Regions from separate parts of the Homo sapiens genome. Here all the other regions are linked to region 2. Evidence: promoter capture Hi-C in 16 types of primary human blood cells and fetal thymus (Javierre and others, 2016). All regions are on one chromosome and are shown on one strand. Each heading gives the region's core, a stretch centred on a gene start or on the middle of the fragment in contact. The rest is flanking DNA. Distances are from core to core; before and after follow the strand shown.

The links. The method cuts DNA at HindIII sites, captures the fragments that hold promoters and counts their contacts. A CHiCAGO score of 5 or more calls a contact.
Region 1: a contact is called between a fragment that was not itself captured here and the fragment with the promoter of GOLM2 in region 2, in 1 of 17 cell types (endothelial precursors). The highest score is 10.5, in endothelial precursors.
Region 3: a fragment that was not itself captured here is called in contact with the fragment with the promoter of GOLM2 in region 2 in 1 of 17 cell types (endothelial precursors); the score reaches 5.6 in endothelial precursors.
Region 4: a fragment that was not itself captured here is called in contact with the fragment with the promoter of GOLM2 in region 2 in 1 of 17 cell types (endothelial precursors); the score reaches 5.6 in endothelial precursors.
Region 5: a fragment that was not itself captured here is called in contact with the fragment with the promoter of GOLM2 in region 2 in 1 of 17 cell types (endothelial precursors); the score reaches 5.3 in endothelial precursors.
Region 6: a fragment that was not itself captured here is called in contact with the fragment with the promoter of GOLM2 in region 2 in 1 of 17 cell types (fetal thymus); the score reaches 9.9 in fetal thymus.
Region 7: a contact is called between a fragment that was not itself captured here and the fragment with the promoter of GOLM2 in region 2, in 1 of 17 cell types (endothelial precursors). The highest score is 6.0, in endothelial precursors.

What each region holds. Positions count from the first base shown.
Region 1 is chr15:43,901,035-43,903,761 of GRCh38, reverse strand. FRMD5 (FERM domain containing 5) reads left to right here. Exons shown (of 14, transcript NM_032892.5): 7 at 1,500-1,587. Among named protein-coding and RNA genes, the nearest start is that of WDR76, 75 kb to the right of the region's middle. The HindIII fragment of the contact is 1,950 bases long and covers 458-2,407 here.
Region 2 is chr15:44,287,317-44,290,016 of GRCh38, reverse strand. GOLM2 (golgi membrane protein 2) reads right to left here and starts at 1,298. Exons shown (of 10, transcript NM_138423.4): 1 at 661-1,298. The coding sequence starts at 987. RefSeq lists a silencer at 1,022-1,381 and enhancers at 1,192-1,486, 1,882-1,951, 1,333-2,239. The HindIII fragment of the contact is 5,453 bases long and covers 1-1,993 here.
Region 3 is chr15:43,943,230-43,945,929 of GRCh38, reverse strand. All of the region lies in intron 1 of FRMD5 (FERM domain containing 5), which reads left to right. Among named protein-coding and RNA genes, the nearest start is that of WDR76, 120 kb to the right of the region's middle. The HindIII fragment of the contact is 4,978 bases long and covers 1-2,700 here.
Region 4 is chr15:43,876,207-43,878,906 of GRCh38, reverse strand. All of the region lies in intron 13 of FRMD5 (FERM domain containing 5), which reads left to right. It also overlaps the pseudogene PIN4P1. Among named protein-coding and RNA genes, the nearest start is that of WDR76, 51 kb to the right of the region's middle. The HindIII fragment of the contact is 2,504 bases long and covers 153-2,656 here.
Region 5 is chr15:43,925,319-43,928,018 of GRCh38, reverse strand. The region is part of intron 1 of FRMD5 (FERM domain containing 5); the gene reads left to right. Among named protein-coding and RNA genes, the nearest start is that of WDR76, 100 kb to the right of the region's middle. RefSeq lists an enhancer at 1-104. The HindIII fragment of the contact is 5,118 bases long and covers 1-2,700 here.
Region 6 is chr15:44,728,862-44,731,561 of GRCh38, reverse strand. It overlaps the pseudogene RNF4BP. Among named protein-coding and RNA genes, the nearest start is that of TRIM69, 6.3 kb to the left of the region's middle. RefSeq lists enhancers at 1,680-2,665, 2,666-2,700. The HindIII fragment of the contact is 2,051 bases long and covers 229-2,279 here.
Region 7 is chr15:43,842,856-43,845,555 of GRCh38, reverse strand. It overlaps WDR76 (WD repeat domain 76), which reads right to left. Exons shown (of 13, transcript NM_024908.4): 8 at 1,502-1,655. Among named protein-coding and RNA genes, the nearest start is that of WDR76, 17 kb to the right of the region's middle. The HindIII fragment of the contact is 2,674 bases long and covers 39-2,700 here.

The DNA.
Region 1 (2,727 bases), core at 183-2,682, 390 kb after region 2:
TTGGGCCAACTCCAAGGGTAAATGGAGCCCACAGGGCCCACTCCCCCTGCAGACAGAGGACACTCCCTGGAAAGGGAAGCTGTGCTCTAGCCAGCCCTTTGCTTGCCACACAGATATTTTCCTAACTTACCTTCCCTGTGCCTCAGGTACACTAGTGGATGCAGAAGTCTTTATTCACAGCAATACCCCCTTCCACAGGTACTTTTTCCATAGGTCCTGCCTCGTCTTCATAATGTAAAAATACATCCATGCTTCCTTTATGCAACTGTGATATGGGCTTTTGAGAGCACAGACTGTATACTGTGTTTCTTCATATATTTTCCAGCAAGTAGCACAGAGGCTGGCACATAAAGGTGCTGCCTGACTAATGCCTCTCCAGAGGGACACTAGGGGGAATCTGGCCTGGGGTCAGCTTATCTTCCTGCCTGGCCATATCACCTGAGGCAAATGATAAGCTTAGAAACGAGCAACGTGCAGTCCTGTCCACCAGCCATCAGAGATGTTGACTTCACAAGCTGCCCACCCCTCCTCACTGAAGCCAAACCTGTATCTGTAGAAGTATATCTGCTTTGCAGGGCTCTGGACCCAGGCAAGAGCCTGATGGTTATTCTGCCACTGGGTCTGCAATGAGCCCATCAACACACCTGCTAAAGAGGCAGTGGGAAGGGGTGATGCCAAAGGCCCCTTCAGATGGCCTGGAGCCGGAGCTGATCTCTGCCTTTTTCAGCATCTTTCATTTTCCTGGTCATCACCCTATGGACAGACAGCTGTTGTGGAGCATGGGAGCTCAGCACTGTCTCCTGCCTCTCCTCACCCTAATTTCCTGTGTTTCCTTTTGGCAAAGGAAGAGGGCTGGGTGGCACCAGCAAGCTATATGAGCCCCTTCTTTATATTTCAGTCTAGAACAGATCACATATGAGAAGCCTATGACCTGCTTCCAGCCTACAGATGTATTTTGTTTTACCCCATAGTATTTTAAATTGTGAAATACCACATAAAAATCAGTATCTCTGACTTTTCTTTTAAAATCACAATATCTAGCTAAGCCTTGCATTCTTTTTTTTTTTTTTTTGAGACAGGGTCTCATTCTGTCACTCAGGGTGGAGTGTAGGGCTGTGACCATAGCTCACTGAAACCTCGCACTCCTGGGCTCAAGCAATCCTCCCACCTCCCACCTCAGCCTCCCAAGTAGTGGGCCCTGCATTCTCAGTGATGGGAATCTCAGAGTTAAGATGGTGCTGCCACAGTCCCCACCACTCCCCATTGTTTACACTCAGCCCAAGTAATTCATTATGTAGCCTGCCTCACTCTGAAAACGTTTGAAGACAGTCAGAGACTCTAGCAGGAGTCTCGAAGTTGGTCCTAGAACCAAGCAGGGAGCACACCCTAGACAAACTGAGATGTGTGGCTCATCCTAAGCACATCTTCATAGAGAGTTTACCTCAGGGGAACCTGTGGGAACAAGACACCTTGAAATCATCTCATCTTCTTTATTCCAGTGGTCAAACACCAGCAACATCAGAGCTGAACTTCTTAAGAAAAGCACAGACATTGGAAACATATGGAGTGGATCCTCACCCATGTAAGGTAAGACCCCCTGGTTGGAGACTGCATGACCTTTCCTCCTCTAGAAGGCATCAGGAGCAAGAGCCCCCATGCCTGCGCTCAGAGGCCCCCTTCAACGTTTACATGGCTGGCACTTTCAGTGAGATATCAGAGAAAATGCCTGCTTTGAAAACTCCTCTGGATCACATGCTACATAATTTTGTGGTGCCACATCAATGTCAGAGGAACCGAGGCAAAGTCAATCTAAATAACAAATCCAAAGCTAGGGCCCCGCAATGGGTAATTTGGTAGAAATGAAGAGAGGAGGGATATGGAAGGCCCCCCACAGAGAACGATCAGAGGCGGCTCAGTGCCTGCCCACCCTTTCCTGACCTGTAATCTAGTTTCTTTCCGAGAGTGGGTTTTATTGACTGCAGTGGCATAAGTCACTGCACGGAACTGCAGTGGAGTCACATTTAATGCCATTATGCGCCTGTGAGGGATAGACGAGAACCAGCCGGGGAGGCTGCCCAGAGAAAACCTCTGTAATTACTCATGCACATCTGGCATTTTGGAGATGAGCGGGGGCAGCCAGTCACTGCCGAGGCCTGTGCAGACCCATGGCCCCTTCCAGTCTCTCTCTGTGGCTGTGGCCCTTCACGTTACCTCCTGTCCCTGTTGCTTTGACACTCCTGGTCTCTACCTCAGTTTCTCCACATTTCTGCCTCTCTCTTTCCATTACTGGAGAGGGTCCAGTATCACCAGTAAAACCAACTGGCAAGCTGATCTGAAGGAAGCAGTATCAGCCAGGAACAGGAAGACATCAACCTTTTCTTCCTAACTGGAGAGGGGATACTAAGCTTCAAGCAAAAATTAAAAGAATAGTATATTAGTTCCTAGGGTTTCTGTAACAAGTATCACAGACTGGGTGGCTTAAAGAACAGAAGTCTATTGTCTCACAGTTCTGGAGGCTGGAGATCTGAGATAAGGTGTCAGCAGGGTTGGTTCTTCCTGTGGGCTTTGAGAGAAGGATCCTTTCCAGGCCCCTCTCCTTGGCCTGTGGATGGCTGTCATCTGCCTGTGTCTTCACGCTTTCTTCCCTCTGTACATGTCTCTGTCCAGATTTCTCCAAAGACACCAGTCATATTGGATTAGGGCCCATCCTAATGACCTCAGTTTAAC
Region 2 (2,700 bases), core at 49-2,548:
AATCTTTTGGCTGATTTCATTAACAATTCAAATTGAGTAGATAATGATGGATCAACTATGTCCAAGACACAAGTGTGTCTCACATATAGCTCGAGGGCCCATCTATCATAACATTTTGATCACAAAAAGGCAGTCATAGCTGATTATTTAGTTATTCAATACATCACCCTATAGAGATTTTAAAAGTCACACAGCTTAAAAAATATATGATGACTACCATAAGTAGAGGAGTCAGAGGCGGCTTCGTTCTTTAAATAACGAAATTAATATTGATCAGTGTGCACGGAATAAAAATGAGACAATAACCACACCAAACCTGGCAGTCGCCAGATTTGTGTGTCTTTGAAGGTAAGGGGGCCACACAGGCCAGATGATTACTACTGCCAACTCACCAGCTGAGCTTAGAGAATAGGCAGCATCTGCACACAGTCCACTCTTGAGAACCAGAATTTACAGTCATTTTTTTCTGGCAGGGACCAGAGAACGTGGCACTGATAAACTGGGAAAAGTCTGACAGAAACAGGGTTGTTGGGGGTGAAAGGAGCCTTCAGGACTGAAATACTGGAAGGCATAAGACAACAGCTAGCGGATTAACATCCCGCCCCAGACCCCGGGGAGAAAAGAAACCATGGGGTTTGAAGAGAAAAGGGTCGTCCTTACCTTGTCATCCTCGCATCTCTTCCCGAGGCCCTCTCTGGCCTGCAGCCGGCTGCTGAGGCGGCCGTAGTCGGCCTCCTTCTGGTCGATCTGTTTCTTGTGCGTGTCCACCAACAGCAAGAGGTCCGAATTGCGCTTTTCCAGCCGCCCGCGGGCCACTTCGGTGCGCTGGACCTGGCCCTGCAGCTCGGCCACCTCCTCCTGAAGCAGGACGTGGCGGGAGGAGATGCTCCAGTAGTTGAAGGCGAGGACGACGATCACCACCAGCAGCACCACCAGCACGAGAGAGGGCAGGCGGCCAGCCCGCCGGTTGGCCCCGAAACCCACCATGGGGCCAAATCGGGCTGTACCCTAGGGGCCTCGCCGCAGACACCTGCAGGCAGAAGCCCAGGCCTCGGCTGGAGTTGCCCGGCGGACACGGCCCCAGGGCCGGCCGAGGGAGGAGGCGGGCTTACCGGTCGGCTGCGAGCCGGAGAAGGGGGCGGGGCCGCAAGCCGCAGGTCCCTCCCCGCCCCCCTCCTCAAATCAGGCCAAAACGCGTTCCGGAGGCTTTGAACCCGACCCTGCACCTGCCCAAGGGAACCGGGAGAACCCAGCTGCCAGCGTCCCCCAAACCCAACACCTCACGGTTGGGAGGCGGGGAAAAAAACCGGAAAGGGGCGGATGTACCCTGGCCCCACCCACTAGCTGGGGCCGGGTCGTCTAGGGGACCATTTCCGAGTTTCCGTCGACACCCCTCTTGTCGCGAGAACGTTGCTTCCTCTCGTCTCTCTCTCTCTCTCTCTCTCTCTCTCTCTCTCTCTCTCTCTCTCTCTCTCTCTCTCGCTCTCTCGCTCTCTCGCTCTCTCGCTCTCTCGCTCTCTCTCGCTCGCTCTCTTTCTCTCTCTCTCTCTCTCTCTCTCTCTCTCTCTCTCTCTCTCTCTCGCTCTCTCTCTCTCTCGCTCGCTCGCTCTCTTTCTCTCTCCCCGCCCAGAGTTTTCTCTGTCGCGTAGGGTGTTGTGTTAATTTTGGCGGTCTCAGATGTCTCAGGTACCTGGGTCGGAGTCCTTTCTGTTGTTATCTACTGGATTCCCTTGATTCAAGGCCTAGGGAGTTCCTGCCCTACACTGGCCCTCGCGAAAATATTTGTCTTTGAGGACGTCTGGGGCTGCGACCGCGGAATAGAAAAAAATAGTAGGTGAGCTGCTGCCAAAAAGGAGCGACTAGAAAGGTTTTGTACTTGCTTCTGTAGAAGGGGAATTTCTCTTTTGTGCTAATGATGTGGAAAGAAAAAACAAAAAGACTGTAAAATAGCGATGCCCTAAACATAATGGAGAAAAGCGGGAGAAACCAAGCTTTAGGACTGAAAGGGGTGGTGCCAGTCTCGTTTCCTAGGTTACTGCTTTCACGAACCGAAAGAATTTCAGAATGTGGCGAGCTCCAATTTTTAAACGCACTGCTGCTTTTGCCTCAGCTGGGCTTCCAAACAGAAAGTCCAGAAGCTGCCCTCGATGAATCGTAACTAATGCACTGTTACTGCCAGCGAACACATTCCGGGTTAGAAATAATAGCTCTAACAAATTGTTTTGCGCGCCTAGTCTCATATTATCTTCTCAACAACGCAATTTTACAGATGAAGAATCCAAGACACATAGATGTTTGGGAACTTTCTCTTATCTGGTTTTAAATAGGCTTGAATCCAGATCATTGAACTCTAAACACCAGTGCTGTCTGCATATAGCAGATTGTTTATATGTTAAGTGTGAATTTCAGTAGTGCAAAAAAAAAAACAAAACCTGCCTCTTTTTTTTTTTTGCATAATTATTTTGTCCGTGCATAGAGAAATAAAAAGGTACTGGCTCTAACCTGTTTAAGGAGAGGATGGGGTTGCCTTATTTTTCAGACCTCAGGTTGAAGAACTTCCATGAGTATAAAACCTCAAGAAGGAAAAACCTTGGTATTTTTTATTCGAATCAGAGTGATATGATTTTGAGGCAGGAAGACTTGTCATCTTAATTATTCTGTGCTTCCTATCCTCAAAAATTATTTCCCTAAGTCCCGTAG
Region 3 (2,700 bases), core at 166-2,665, 340 kb after region 2:
CACATGCCACCATGCCCAGCTAATTCTTGTATTTTTAGTAGAGACAGGGTTTCACCGTCTTGGCCAGGCTGGTCTTGAACTCCTGACCTCGTGATCCACCTGCCTTGGCCTCCCAAAGTGCTGGGATTACAGGTGAGCCACCACCTGGGGAAGACATTTTTAAAAGATCTGGGGGGCAGGGGGCAGAGTTTTGCTTTCTATGGTGCAATGTGCCCTCCCGTCCATATGCCTAAGAAATCTTCACAAAGGTTATATTACACTTCAGTACATTTACAGTGGGATGCATGCAGTTGTGTGTCCAAGAAGTTCCATGTGGTGTTTTTGTATGAGTGTCCTATGTTGGCATAGGATGAGGGCTTGGCAATCATATAACAGGCTCAGGTACCCAGGACCTACTTCATTCATAATGATATTCCACTGTAACAAGTAAAAGTAATTTCATATTTTAAAAAAGATTGAAATGTCCTCAGTAGTAATTTAAATCAGTTCTCCTCTGCCTACAACTGACCGTGACTTTGGCTTTTGTTTAGTATTCTTTCTAGTTCTTTGGGTTCAGGAAAATTTTTTATTTAAAAAAAATGACATTTTTAATGAAGGGAGTCTTTACTTCCTATAATGACCAAGCACTTCCTATTGAACCAACTCTCCCACAGATAAGTGTAAATGTTGAATAAAATATAAAAAGCAACCACCTAATGCCACTGGAGCATAATAAAAAGTAGGCAGGGTAGTGTAGGGTCTACCCTTGGAAGAAGGAAATGGCAGTGGGTAAGTTTCCCATTTTTTAATGGCTTTTAGATTAAGGAGATGTCCTATCTGGTGTCATATAAACTCATAGAAACCTGCCGGGCGCTATGGCACATGCCTGTAATCCCAGCACTTTGGAAGGCTAAGGTGGGCAGATCACGTGAACTCAGGAGGAGACCAGCCTGGGCAGCATGGTGAAACCCCCCCTCTATCAAAAAAAAAAAAAATAAATAAATAAACTTATAGAAACCCACAGTTTCTATCAAACCCACAGAGGCCACAGCTTGGGATAGCCACAGCAGCTGGAAAATGAGGAGGAAAATTCCAGAAAGGAGAGAGGCAAATGGGAAGCCCCAAATTCTGTGCATAAATCCTGCCCAAATATCTGACTGACCCTTTAACTATGTATGCGTGGGACAGACTCCAAGGAACCCAGCCGGTAGCGGGTGCCTGTAGTCCCAGCTACTTGGGAGGCTGAGGCAGGAGAATCGCTTGAACCCAGGAGGTGAAAGTTGCAGTGAGCCAAGATCATGCTACTGCACTCCAGCCTGGGCAACACAGTGAGACTCCATCTCGAAAAAAAAAATTAGCTGGTCGTGGCGGCTCACACCTGTAATCTCAGCTACTCAGGAAGCTGAGGCAAGAGAATCACTTGAACCCGGGAGTTCGGGAGGTGGAGGTTGCAGTGAGCAGAGATTGCGCCACTGCACTCCAGCCTGGGCAACAAGAGTGAAAACTCCGTCTCAAAAACAAAAGAAGTGGGTCCTTTTAAGTGGTGATGGGATTTGTAAGGGCTCTGCCCTCCTGAATGGCTTAATGCGTTAATAGATTAAAGGGTTAATGGATTAATGGGTTATCATGGGAATGGAACTGGTGGCTTTCTTAGAAGAGGAAGACAGATCTGAGCCGAGCACATTAGCCCACTCTGCCCCATGATCATGTGATGCCCTGTGGCACTTCAGGACTCTATAGAGTTCCCACCAGCAAGAAGGCTCTTGCCAGATGCAGTGCCTTAACCTTGGACTTCTCAGCCTCCATAATTGTAAGAAATAAATTTCCTTTCTTTATAAATTACCCAGTTTCAGATATTCTGTTATAAGCAACAGAAAAGGACTAAGGCAGTGGCCGATGGGATATGGTACTGAAAAGATAAGTAAATGACCAATCATGGAGAGCCCCAAGTGCAAAATAACAAAGTCTGCTTTGCTCTAAGTAGAAAGAGGGGTCACAATGGCCAGATTTGGTAAGGAAAGACTTCATGGACAGTGTGGAACTTTTGCCCTGAAGGAGAGGTTGTATTCATTTTCTAGGGCTGCCATAGCAATCACAAACTGGCTTGAAACAACAAATTTATTCTGTCATAGTTCTGGAAACTAGAAGTTTGAAATCAAGGTGTCAGCAGAGACATTCTCCCTCTGGAGACTCTAGGGAAGAATTCTTCCTTGCTTCTTCCCAGCTGCTAGTGGTTGCTGGCAATCCTTGCCATTCCTTGCTTGTTACTACATCATTCTGACCTCTGCCTCTGTCTTCCCTCTGTGTGTGTCTATGTCTCTTCATGGTCTTCTTATAAGGAACCAATAACTGGATTTAGGTCTACCCTAATCCAGTATGGCCTCATCTTAACTAATTACATCTGCAAAGACTTTATTTCCAAATAAGGTCACATTCTAAGGTTCTGTGTGAACATGAATTTTGGGGGACACTATTCTACCCAGTACAGAGGTGAGTTAAAAGTATCATGAAATATCCAAGGTCTTACAGTTCTGGGCCTACTTAATCCTTAATATTAAAGTACTCTCTTACGGCCAGGAGCAATGGCTCTCGCCTGTAATCCCAACACTTTAGGAGACCAAGGCAGGAGGATCACTTGAGTCTAGGAGTTTGAGACCAGTCTGGGCAACATGGCAAAACCCTGTCTCTTTTTTCTTTTCTTTTTTTTTGAGATACAGTTTC
Region 4 (2,700 bases), core at 155-2,654, 410 kb after region 2:
ATCTATCCATTATCTTGTTTAATGAGAGCACCAACAGCTCCCAGTATGATGTGGCTCCAGGTGGTCCTCTGACATTTTCCTCTTCTGATGTCACAGCATCTGCCTCTCCTTCCCCACAAGCTGAGGGGTGTAATCGTAGGTTAAGCTAAGCTTTTCATACTTTGAAAGATCCTGCAGTCAGAGCTGTCTTCATGAAGGGGCAGGCCTTTGAAAGGGTGGCAGGCGCCCTATGCAATGGGGCTGAGGACTGCCTGGGAAAGGAGCCAAGCAAGCAATATGCTGCAACCAGGGCCTTAAGGTTTCTGCTTTATCAGTGACCCATAACCTGTCCCAAGGTACATATTCCTCAAGCTGCATGTGCAAATGGGGACATCAGGGAGGAATACTGTGGAAGAGAGATCAGAGGAACAGCAAGAGCTCTAGAACAAGGGACAGAGACTCTTAATTTCAGGTTATTTCAAAACAGTTTCTCGAGCAATTAAGACCTAAATCTAAGGTAGATGCTGGCTGTTGATTTAATCCGTCCTGGCCCATGGTTCCATTCCATGGAATCCGACTACAGTTAAGTCATCACTTAACAGCGTTGACAGGGTCTTTAGAAACTGCAACTTTAAGCAAAATGATGTACAATTAAACTTTTTTTTTTCTCATCAACATTATAACAAAATGGGGCTGGGCGTGGTGGCTCACATCTGTAATCCCAGCACAAAAACCTGTCTCTACAAAAAATACGAAAATTAGCTAGGCGTGGTGGCACATGCCTGTAGTCCCAGCTACTCAGGAGGCTGAGGTGGGAGGATCACCTGAGCCTGGGAGGTCGAGGCTGCAGTGAGCCGTGATTGTACCACTGCACTCCAGTCTAGGCAATGGAGTAAGACTGTCTCAAAAAACTAAAGAACTTTAAAAAAATTATAACAAAATGATGCTGAAGAAAACATTGGAGGACCTGCTGTAACATCATTTGGCTTAAAGTCATGGTTTCCAGGAACCTGTTGACAACATGAGGACTTAATAGATATGATCAGCAGGATCATGAACTAGAAAGCGGCTTGGATTCTATCCTTGGTTTTGCCATTAACTGCCAACCACATGACTTCAGATAACCTCTTGCCCTCACTACCTTGTGGAGTTACTGAAAGATAAAATCAAAGTGCTTTAAAAAGATGAAAGCATTATACAAATTTAAGATTTTAGCACAGGGACAAAAAATACAGCTAAGACTATGAGGAGCTTCTGAAAGCAGAGATTGAGAGCTGTGGCAAATATATGAGCCGTGACGCAATGGGGAGCGTAACTAGATGGCAGGTGCCCTGCCTTTGCCCCCACCCTCTCTCCCCATTGTCCTACTCATTCATAACCCAGATTCCAGGGCTCATTCCTCTGGAGAATCCTTAACTGTGCCTGTGCCAAGACAGGCTCCACAAGGCTGGTCAGGCAGGCTGCCTGGGTGCAAACGGCCAAGCCATGAGGGAGCCAAGGAAGATGGGACACACTGCTTCTGAAAGGTTACTAACACCTTTTTAAGAGAGACCTTTGGACTGCTTCATGTCCTGGAAGAAGGGGAAAAAAGAGACCCTTTGGGCTTCTGGAGCTAGCCCTGAACCAAAAAACTCCCTAATCAACCTGACTTAGGTAAAACCTTTACTGAGCTGGGAATCTGGTTCAGTCTGGGATTGTCAGGGACTATTTCAGGGCAACAGAAGGGGACTGGCTTTTCTTGTCATAGGTCACAAAGGCAGAGAGAACCACACCAGCATCACCAAGATGGCCAGGAGTGGAAAATGCAGACATTGAGCCTAAAACAAGAAGCCATTTCCTTGGGAGCACTGTGATGGGGGCCGCGCTCACTCACTATATGCCCAAAGCCTCTGGCCTGGGTGGCTGCTGTTCAGTTGAGAGTGTAACCAGCTCCTGTTTTCCCTGCCAGGGCTTGAGTCCTGTGAGAACCTTGGGAAGAGAGAAGAGATAATGGGTAGTTTTAGGGGATAGAATACCCCTTCCTCCTACCAAATGTAAGAGAAATCCACCCCCGCAACAAGATCTTCTCAAACTGTTTTGTGCTCTGAAGTGTCTAAAGATAGGGGAGCTTTTCAGCCTATTCTAGACCCAGCTCCTTCTCAGAGGAAAAGAGAGGGAGCTGGCCAGGGACTACTCCCATGCCCCCTCAAGAAGAGCAGAGAGAGTTTCTACCCCATCATTCCACAAAGTCAGAACAGCTAGAACGGAGGCTGAAGAGACTGAGAGCAGCTGCAGAAATCCAAAAATATTGACCTTATAAGCTCAAGATGCTGTATGCTGGGTTTTTACAAGGATATTCGGTATTTGATGAAACCCAGTTAGGCATGACATATTCCCCTTCTCCCCATTCCTACCTCTCTTTTATTAAAAATTTTATAGTTACAGTGTCTATGTTGCCCAGCCTGGTCTTGAACCCTTTGGCTCAAGTGATCCACCTGCCTTGGCCTCCCAAAGTGCTGGGATTACAGATGGGAGCCATCGTGTCTGGCCCATTCCTGCCTCTTAAAGCCCTCCACCCAACAGGCAGACTTGAGACTCAAACCGTGGTCCCAGCTCTGCATCAGGGGTAGTTTGGAATTCAGATTCTTTCAAACTGGGGTAAAAACCAGGCCCAGAGTTCAGAGTTCAACAACAAGCTTCCAAGATGCCGCCCAAAGGAAAAAGTGGTTCTGGAAAAGCGGG
Region 5 (2,700 bases), core at 94-2,593, 360 kb after region 2:
AAGAAATCTGAAGTTGGATCTACCAAGTTCAGGGTTCTTACCAGCTAAGAGCCTTACAAGTGCATCTGAACTCGCAGCCCATGAGAATGAGTTGTTTTATGAAAGGCAGGATTCTTATTAAAAGTCTGTATGATTTCCATCACAGAAGCATGTTTTCCCTATAGCTATCTCTGTCCCATTGCTAATCTGGTTGTTGTATGTATGGAAGCAAACTTCTTCAGCCCGTAAAACTCACATCATACTGTAGTAGTGTTTGTGAAAAACATTTTTTCATTAAAAAAAAAAAAGCACCAGCTGATCACAATGTAAAAGCCAGCTTGGTGCAAAGTAAAATTTGTAGAGAAAAGCAATGAAAATATGCTACTGTCTCTCACTGTTCCATTTCAGTTGCTCTGAGAGAGATAATAGTATAGGATATGCTGCATGGGATAGAGTGGAACATGTTTCCTCTGCTCCCAGAGAACCTGAAATACCTCTTTAAGCTCTTCTCACTCTCTTGGCATCAGTGAAGAAGTAGTTAATAGGCCCTGCACAAAGAAAGTTCTGACGGAGTCCTTTGAAAGACCTGGTTTGTGGCCCACCACCCAGAAGTCCCAGTGTGATTCATAACGAGTCTCTGTCCTGAGAGTCACTCTTTCCTGTAGGGGACCAAAGACAGGAGGAATAGGGCCTGCGAGTTCAGGCTTATGTTGTGAGAGGGAGTATGAGGCTAGCAGAAGTGATACCAGTGGGCTGGGGGAGGTCCCCAAACGCCAGTGAGACCTCCACCCCACCTGGTGTCCAGGCTCTTGACACCATTGAGAAGATAAGAATTCTTTCAAGAAATTCAAGGAAGAGTCAGAAAATAGTAAAAGAACAGAGATTTATTGAGATTTATTGCAAAGGGCAAAGTACACATTCAAGAAAAGGGAGCGTAGGCATACTTGAGAGAGTCATTCAGTGGGGTTTGGGGTTTCTGTCTTTATGGGTTTCTTTAACCAAGGGGTGGAATATTCAAGAAAATTCTTGGGAAAAGGTAGAGATTTCTCATAACTGCAGTGGCACCTATTTTTACAGCAAATATGGGTGGTCTTGGAACAGTCCTGGCGCTGGTAGGTGTGTGATCTAGTATGTTAACGAGTTTATAGTGAGGTCCTAGGAGAAACCTAGGTCAAATCCAGCCACACATTGGGTTCAGTGGGTCTTAGCTAGCTTGGTCTATGCCCTGTTTTTCAGGGTCTTATCAGCCCATAGCCTCTAGTCATGTGAAACTGCTGTCTGGAATTTTTATTCTCCTGTGACCACCCTGTATTATTCCTGTCTCAGAAGAGGAGGGGTGTTGCCCACATGTTGCCTCCTTCTGTAGTTGAGCTGTCTACTCACCTATTCTTCCAGCTCCTGCAAGGACAAACTTCTTAACATAACTGCCGCGAGATCAGCATCCTGCCCTAGTTCTCCTTGGATAGTATGTGGTGAGTTAGCAGAAGGGGAAGAGGTGAGGTGTAAACCTTTTGTGAAGGTCTTTAAAATATGCTCATTCTTGGGGCAGGGCCAGGCCCTTCTGTAATTACCCATGGCCTTGGGCCTTGGCACAGGAGAGATCTTTGGATCTTATCTTACAACCTCAATTTCTGAGACAAACGTGATAACCACTACACTACAGAAATTCCTCATACAACCTCAATTTGTATGCAAAATTAGACATAGACCCGCCAGAGATGATCATCTGAACTGAGCTGCAGAGACCACTGGGGACAGGCCAGCGATGGATGCTGTGCAGGCTCCAGATGTTTTGACAGGTTCCTGCAAGTCATTCTCCTCCCACTTCACCCTTGGCATCCAGGCAGGTCTCTGAAGTAGAAGGTTATGGGTTATAAACGGCCTAGCTTTTCACCATTTTGTGAAATCTTTTAGCAAACCTTTTCCCTTCTATTCATTCAGTAATTTATTCAACAAATAATTATTGAGGACCTGCCTGCCATGCATCAGGCCCTGTGCTAAGTTCTGGGGGAAGGATTCTGACCTCATGAAAATTACAGTCTAGAAAGGAAGCAGATAGTAAATAGATAACTAAACAAATCAACAAGATAATTACAGATTGGTATAAGTGCTATGAAGGACATAAATGGCAAAATGAGATGGAAAGTAACTGGGAAGGGCTGTACTATAGGGAAAGGCCTCTCTGAAGAGGGGACATTTGAGCTGAGTCCTCAAAAAATAGGAGTGGCTGCAGAGAGCTGCAGGAAGAACATTCCCGGCAGAGGGAATGCAAAGACAGTGGCAGAAAAGCCTTGGGGAGTTCAGAACGGAAAGGCCATGGCTGAAGTGTAGTGAGGAAAATGATTTTGGGTGAGTGCAGAGAGAAGCCAGGCTGTATAGGGCCTGGGACGCCATGATCAGAGTTTTCATTTTATTCTGAGAGCAACAAGAATTAAGAGAAGTGAGTAACATAAAGATCATTGTATGTTCACTGCCACATTGTTTGTAATAGCAAATTAGAAACAAATGTCATCAATATGGAACTGGGTAAATAATTTTAGATTCATTGCAGTGACATGCAGCAGTTAAAAACTGTGAGGCATATCTATATATATTGCCATAGAAGGATTTGCAGGATACCCTAAGTGGGAGAAAAGAGCTTAAAAATATGTTACAAAATGTATTTTTAAAAGAGGAGATGTATATGTATGTAGGTTTGCCTGTGTATAAAACATCACATAA
Region 6 (2,700 bases), core at 5-2,504, 440 kb before region 2:
AGATATTAAAACTCTTCGATGTCTCACTGCTGTTGTTCAGTCACTCTCTGACTTATAAGAATTTAGAGGTCAGATTTCCCCACATATTTGAACCCTTATTCTGGGTCCAGTCCTGTCTTCACTTCCACAACTGCTGTGTTCCCACAGGGAGTGGATCTTCTGGGAGCCATTTGTAAGATAGTTCAATCTGAATTTTTAACTGAAAAAAAATGAGAGAAAAATTAAGCTTTAGTAATGTCTAAATCAAGACTGATAGTAGTGTATGTATAAAATGTATAGCTATATATAGAGAATGTATACAAAAAACTTTTTATAGTTATGCATTTGAACAAAATTTGGAGGCCACTGCTGTTGAAACTGAGTGCCCCTCCCTATTCTATGACCTGATGGTAGTGAGGAGGAGGAATCTAAGGGGCACTTACATGAAGAGAAGCACAATATCATTGAACACCCAAGAAAGGGTTACTACTTCAATTAAGAGCTTTCTCTTTCCTTTTTTTTTTTTTTGAGAAAGAGCCTCACTCTGTCACCCAGGCTGGAGTGCAGTGGTGCAATCTTGGCTCACTGCAACCTCCGTCTCCCCGGGGTTCAAGCAATGTTCATGCCTCAGCCTCCCATATAGCTGGAATTACAGGTGCATGGCACTACACCCGGCTAATTTTTGTATTTTTAGCAGAGATGGGGTTTTGCCATGTTGGTCAGGCTGATATCAAACTCCTGACCTCAGGTGATCTGCCTGCCTCGGTCTCCCAAAGTGCTGGGATCACAGGCATGAGCCACAGCGCTTGGCCCACTCACTCATTTTTTATAAAGTAAAAACGGGAGACCAAAAAATCTCCTTACATACTCCTAAAAGCAAATAAGAAATAAACCATTTACTCTACTTGCAGGTTCATCTTGCCCAGTGTTTTCTTTCTAACAGAGGCAACAAATGGAGTTCTGAAAAATTTATCCCAGATTGCCTTCTAGGAAAGAGAGGATGGAGTTCGAGCATTAGCCATAGAAAGGCTTGGTTTGGGTCTAGGCTCTGTGACTTTTGAGCATGTGACCTAGAAGTTAAGTTGTCAAAATCACAGCATGTAAATCTTTGTAAAAATTAATTAGCTTATAATTTTAAAATAATGCATAGTCATTAGGGAAATACAAATCAAAACCATAAAGAGATACCATTTCGTATCCACTAGAATGGTTATAATAAAAAAAGATTAAAAGTATTGGTGAGGATGTAGAAAAATTGGAACTCTCATACACAATGGTACATTCAGCTTTGGAGAACAGCCTAGTAGTTCCTTAAAAGATTAAACATAGAGTTACCATATCACCCAGCAATTCCACTCCTGCATATATACTCAAGAGAATTGAAAATCTATGTCCACACCAAAAATTTATACATGAATATTGATAACCACATTTTATTCTCAGTAGCCGAAGAGTGGAAACAATCCAAATGCCCATTAACTATAGATGGATAAACAAAACTTAGTATATCTATACAGTAGAGTAATATTCATCAATAAATAGGAATGAAGAACTGATCCTTGCTACAATATGACGACCTTTGAAAACAGAAGCCAGTTACAAAAGACCACATATTATATGTTTCTGTTTCTATGAAATACTAATAGGCAAACCCATAGAGACAGAAAGATTGGTGGTTTCCTAGGACTAGGGGTTTGGGAGAAATGGGAGTGACACCGAACTGGTACAAAATTTCTTTTGGGAGTGACGAAAATGTCCTAAAATTGAGGTGGTTACACAACCCTGTGAATATACTAAAACCCACTGAAATGTACACTTAAATATGTTAATTGTATGGTTTGTGAACTATATCTCAATAAACAAAGATGTAAGCTGCCAAAAATGTTACACAATACAATAGGACACGAACTGGATTTAGATCGGCAAACCGTAGAACCTAGTGAGGAAATGAGAAGCCCAGCAGGAAAACGGGCGGACCCCAGAGAAGGGCTTAGGGCTCTGCGCTCCCCTGCATGCACCGGCCTACTTACCGAGATGGTACTTCTCTTGGGCCCCACAGACACCTGCTTCTCCCCGGATCGCTATTCTCGACTATTTGCGTTTCGCGACCGGCCTGCCCCTCCTCTTTCCCGCTCTGCCCAGGAAAAGCGAGCCCTCGGAAGGAACCTGGGCAGCCCCAGAAAGCAGTGCCCATCACTTTCCAGCTCCATCCACCCAGCAGCCCATCAATGACCTAAATATGCTGTCTGTTCCACCCAGTCCTGCCCGGTAGTTATTCAGCGATGAGAGAGTAGGAAGCTTGAGCTCCAGGAGTGTGCCACTTTCCCGGCCCTCCGTGGCTTCCCAGTCCCGGACAGAGACCTGAGCAAGCCGAACCCGGGTGCCTGGCTGCACTGGGCTGGGAAGGAGGACCGGGCGGCCGCAGGCCAGGGAGGGCAATTGGAGAGAGATAGAAGCAGAGGGAGGGGGAGGCAGAGGAGAAGGTACTCGACGATGGACGCGCCCAGGCTGGGGGCGGCGCCCACAGAGCAGAGCCAAGGTCACGAAGCAGAGCGTCTGCGTGCAAACTCCCGGAACTGGATAGGCTAAAACACTAGCTTGTCACCCTTTTAATTCGCTTTTACAGTTTCCGAACTGCCCAATCAAAACCCGAGCCCAGGGTCGCTCGTCACCGGTCTCTGGACAAAAAGCGCTGTTTCAGATTAGAAATCAGGACTTTCC
Region 7 (2,700 bases), core at 126-2,625, 440 kb after region 2:
CTCACAGTCCTGGTGACTAGGAAGACCAAGATCAAGCTTCCAGTTCATTCAGTGTCTGGTAAGGGCCTACTTTCTGGTTCATAGTTGGTGCCTTCTAGCTGTGTCCTCATATGGTAGAAGGGACAGTGGTCTCTCCTGGGTTTCTTTTATAAGGGCACTAATCTTATTCATGACCTAATCACCTCCCAAAGGTCCTACCTCCTAATACCATAGGGATTAGTATTTCAACATATGAATTTTGGGGAAGACAAAAACATTCAGACCATAGCAGACCATATTTTAAACACAACTAGAAAACTAAACTTCGGGCTGGGCGCCGTGGCTCATGCCTGTAATCCCAGCACTTTGGGAGGCCAAGGCAGGCAGATCACGAGGTCAGGAGATCAAGACCATGGGGAAACCCCACCTCTACTAAAAATAGAAAAAATTAGCCAGGCATGGTGGCAGGCGCCTGTAGTCCCAGCTACTCGGGAGGTTGAGGCAAGAGAATGGCGTGAACCTGAGAGGCGGAGCTTGCAGTGAGCCGAGATCACACCACTGCACTCCAGCCTGGGCGACAGAGCAAGACTCCCTCTCCAAAAAAAGAAAACTAAACTTTGATCTTTTTTTTTTTTTTTTTTTTTTTTTTTACACAGAGTCTCGCTCTGTCGCCCAGGCTGGAGTGCAGTGGTGCGATCTCGGCTCACTGCAAGCTCCCCCTCCCAGGTTCACGCCATTCTCCTGCTTCAGCCTCCCGAGTAGCTGGGACTACAGGCACCTGCCACCACGCCTAGCTAATTTGTTCCATTTTTAGTAGCGATGGGGTTTTTTAGTAGAGACGCGGTTTCACTGTGTTAGCCAGGACGGTCTCGATCTCCTGACTTCGTGATCCACCCGCCTCGGCCTCCCAAAGTGCTGGGATTACAGGCGTGAGCCACCGCTCCCAGCCCTTTTTTTTTTTTTGAGACGGAGTCTTACTCTATCACCCAGGCTGGATGGCACAGTGTCGACTCACTCCAACCTCCGTCTCCTGGGTTCAAGCAATTCTCCTGCCTCAGCCTCCTGAGTAGCTGGGATTACAGGCACCTACCACCACGCCCAGCTAATTTTTGTATTTTTTTACTACAGACGGGGTTTCACCATGTTGGCCAGGCTGGTCTCGAACTCCTGACCTCAGGTGATCCGACCGCCTCAGCCTCTCAAAGTGCTGGCATTACAGGCGTGACCCACCGCACCCGGCCACTTTAAATGTATATGTGAAAAGATCACACAAAGTGTAACAAAGTTTTCTGGCAGTTAATTTATGACCAGATGGTTAATGATATTCAAGCTAAAAATATTAAAGTTCTATAAAGCAAATTTAAATTCTTCCAGATTTCTAAAATTTGGAATCATAAAGCATCATAAAGCCCAAAATTGTAAGTCTCACGCAACATTTATAAACACATGGCTCTAGCCTATTCTCTTCCAGCCTATTTGCTTTAGTCAAACTATAATATATTCAAGAAATTTAATAACTTACCAAATCACAAAGTCCAACTTGCCCAAATTTGGCCCCAACTGCTACCAAAGTTCTAGTTTCTGATGGATGGAGAGCCATAGAGAATATTGGGCCTGTGGTAACTTTGTAAACGGTATCTTCACTAATGACCATGCCATTTAAATTGGCTTTGTAGCTAAGAAAATTACAAAGTTAAATTTTGTAAGTAAAACCAATCTCAATAGTCAAAATAAGTAAAAGATTATTCAAAAAGAAAAATCACAATTAGCAAATAAATATGGGAACTATTCAATCTCCTGGTAACCAAGGAAATCAAATTAAGCAATATTCTTTCACTTTTTAAATTACCCTTGATAATTTTAATAACACCAAAAGCTGGTAGGCTGCAGTTAAATACACATACTCACACATATTGCTAGTGGAAGAGTAAGTTCATATAAAATGTTCAGAAGAAAAAAAAAGACCTTTGAGCAACAATTCGGCAATGTGTACTAAAAGCCATAAAAATGTTCACAATATTTGATGCATTAATCTCACTTCTGGAAATCTAACCTAAAGAAATAATCCACTATCATATCCATATACTTCAACAAACACATACACAAACACACAAAGCTAAATGGAAAACAACCGCAAATACCAAGCAGGTAGGAGGAGAAGTGAACTCCTTCTACTCAATGGAATATTTTATAATTATTCAATAATTTTAAAGACTCTAGTAACATGCAACCGCAAATGAAAAAAAACATAACGCAGGCCAGGCACACTGGCTCACACCTGTAATCCCAGCACTTTGGGAGTCCAAGGCAGACAGCTCACTTGAGCCCAGGTATTCAAGACCAACCTGGGCAACACAGCAAAATCTCATCTCTACAAATACAAAAATTAGTGAGATGTGATGGTGCACGCCTGTAGTCCAAGCTACTTGGGAGGCTGAGGTGGGAGGATCATTTGAGCCCAGGAAGCGAAGGTTGCAATGAGCCAAGATAGTGCCACTGCACTGCAGCCTAAGCGATAGAGGGAGACCTTGTCTCAAAAAACAAAAAAAAAAAAAAAAAAAAAGAAAAAGAAAAAAGTGTAATGCAAAATTGTATATACATTACAACATATAGTAAAAATGTATGTGGATTCACTCATTTATTCAACACTGAACATATATTATGTGCCAGGCACTGTTCTGGTTATTGAAATAGAATTCTTGCTTATATCCTAGTGGTATT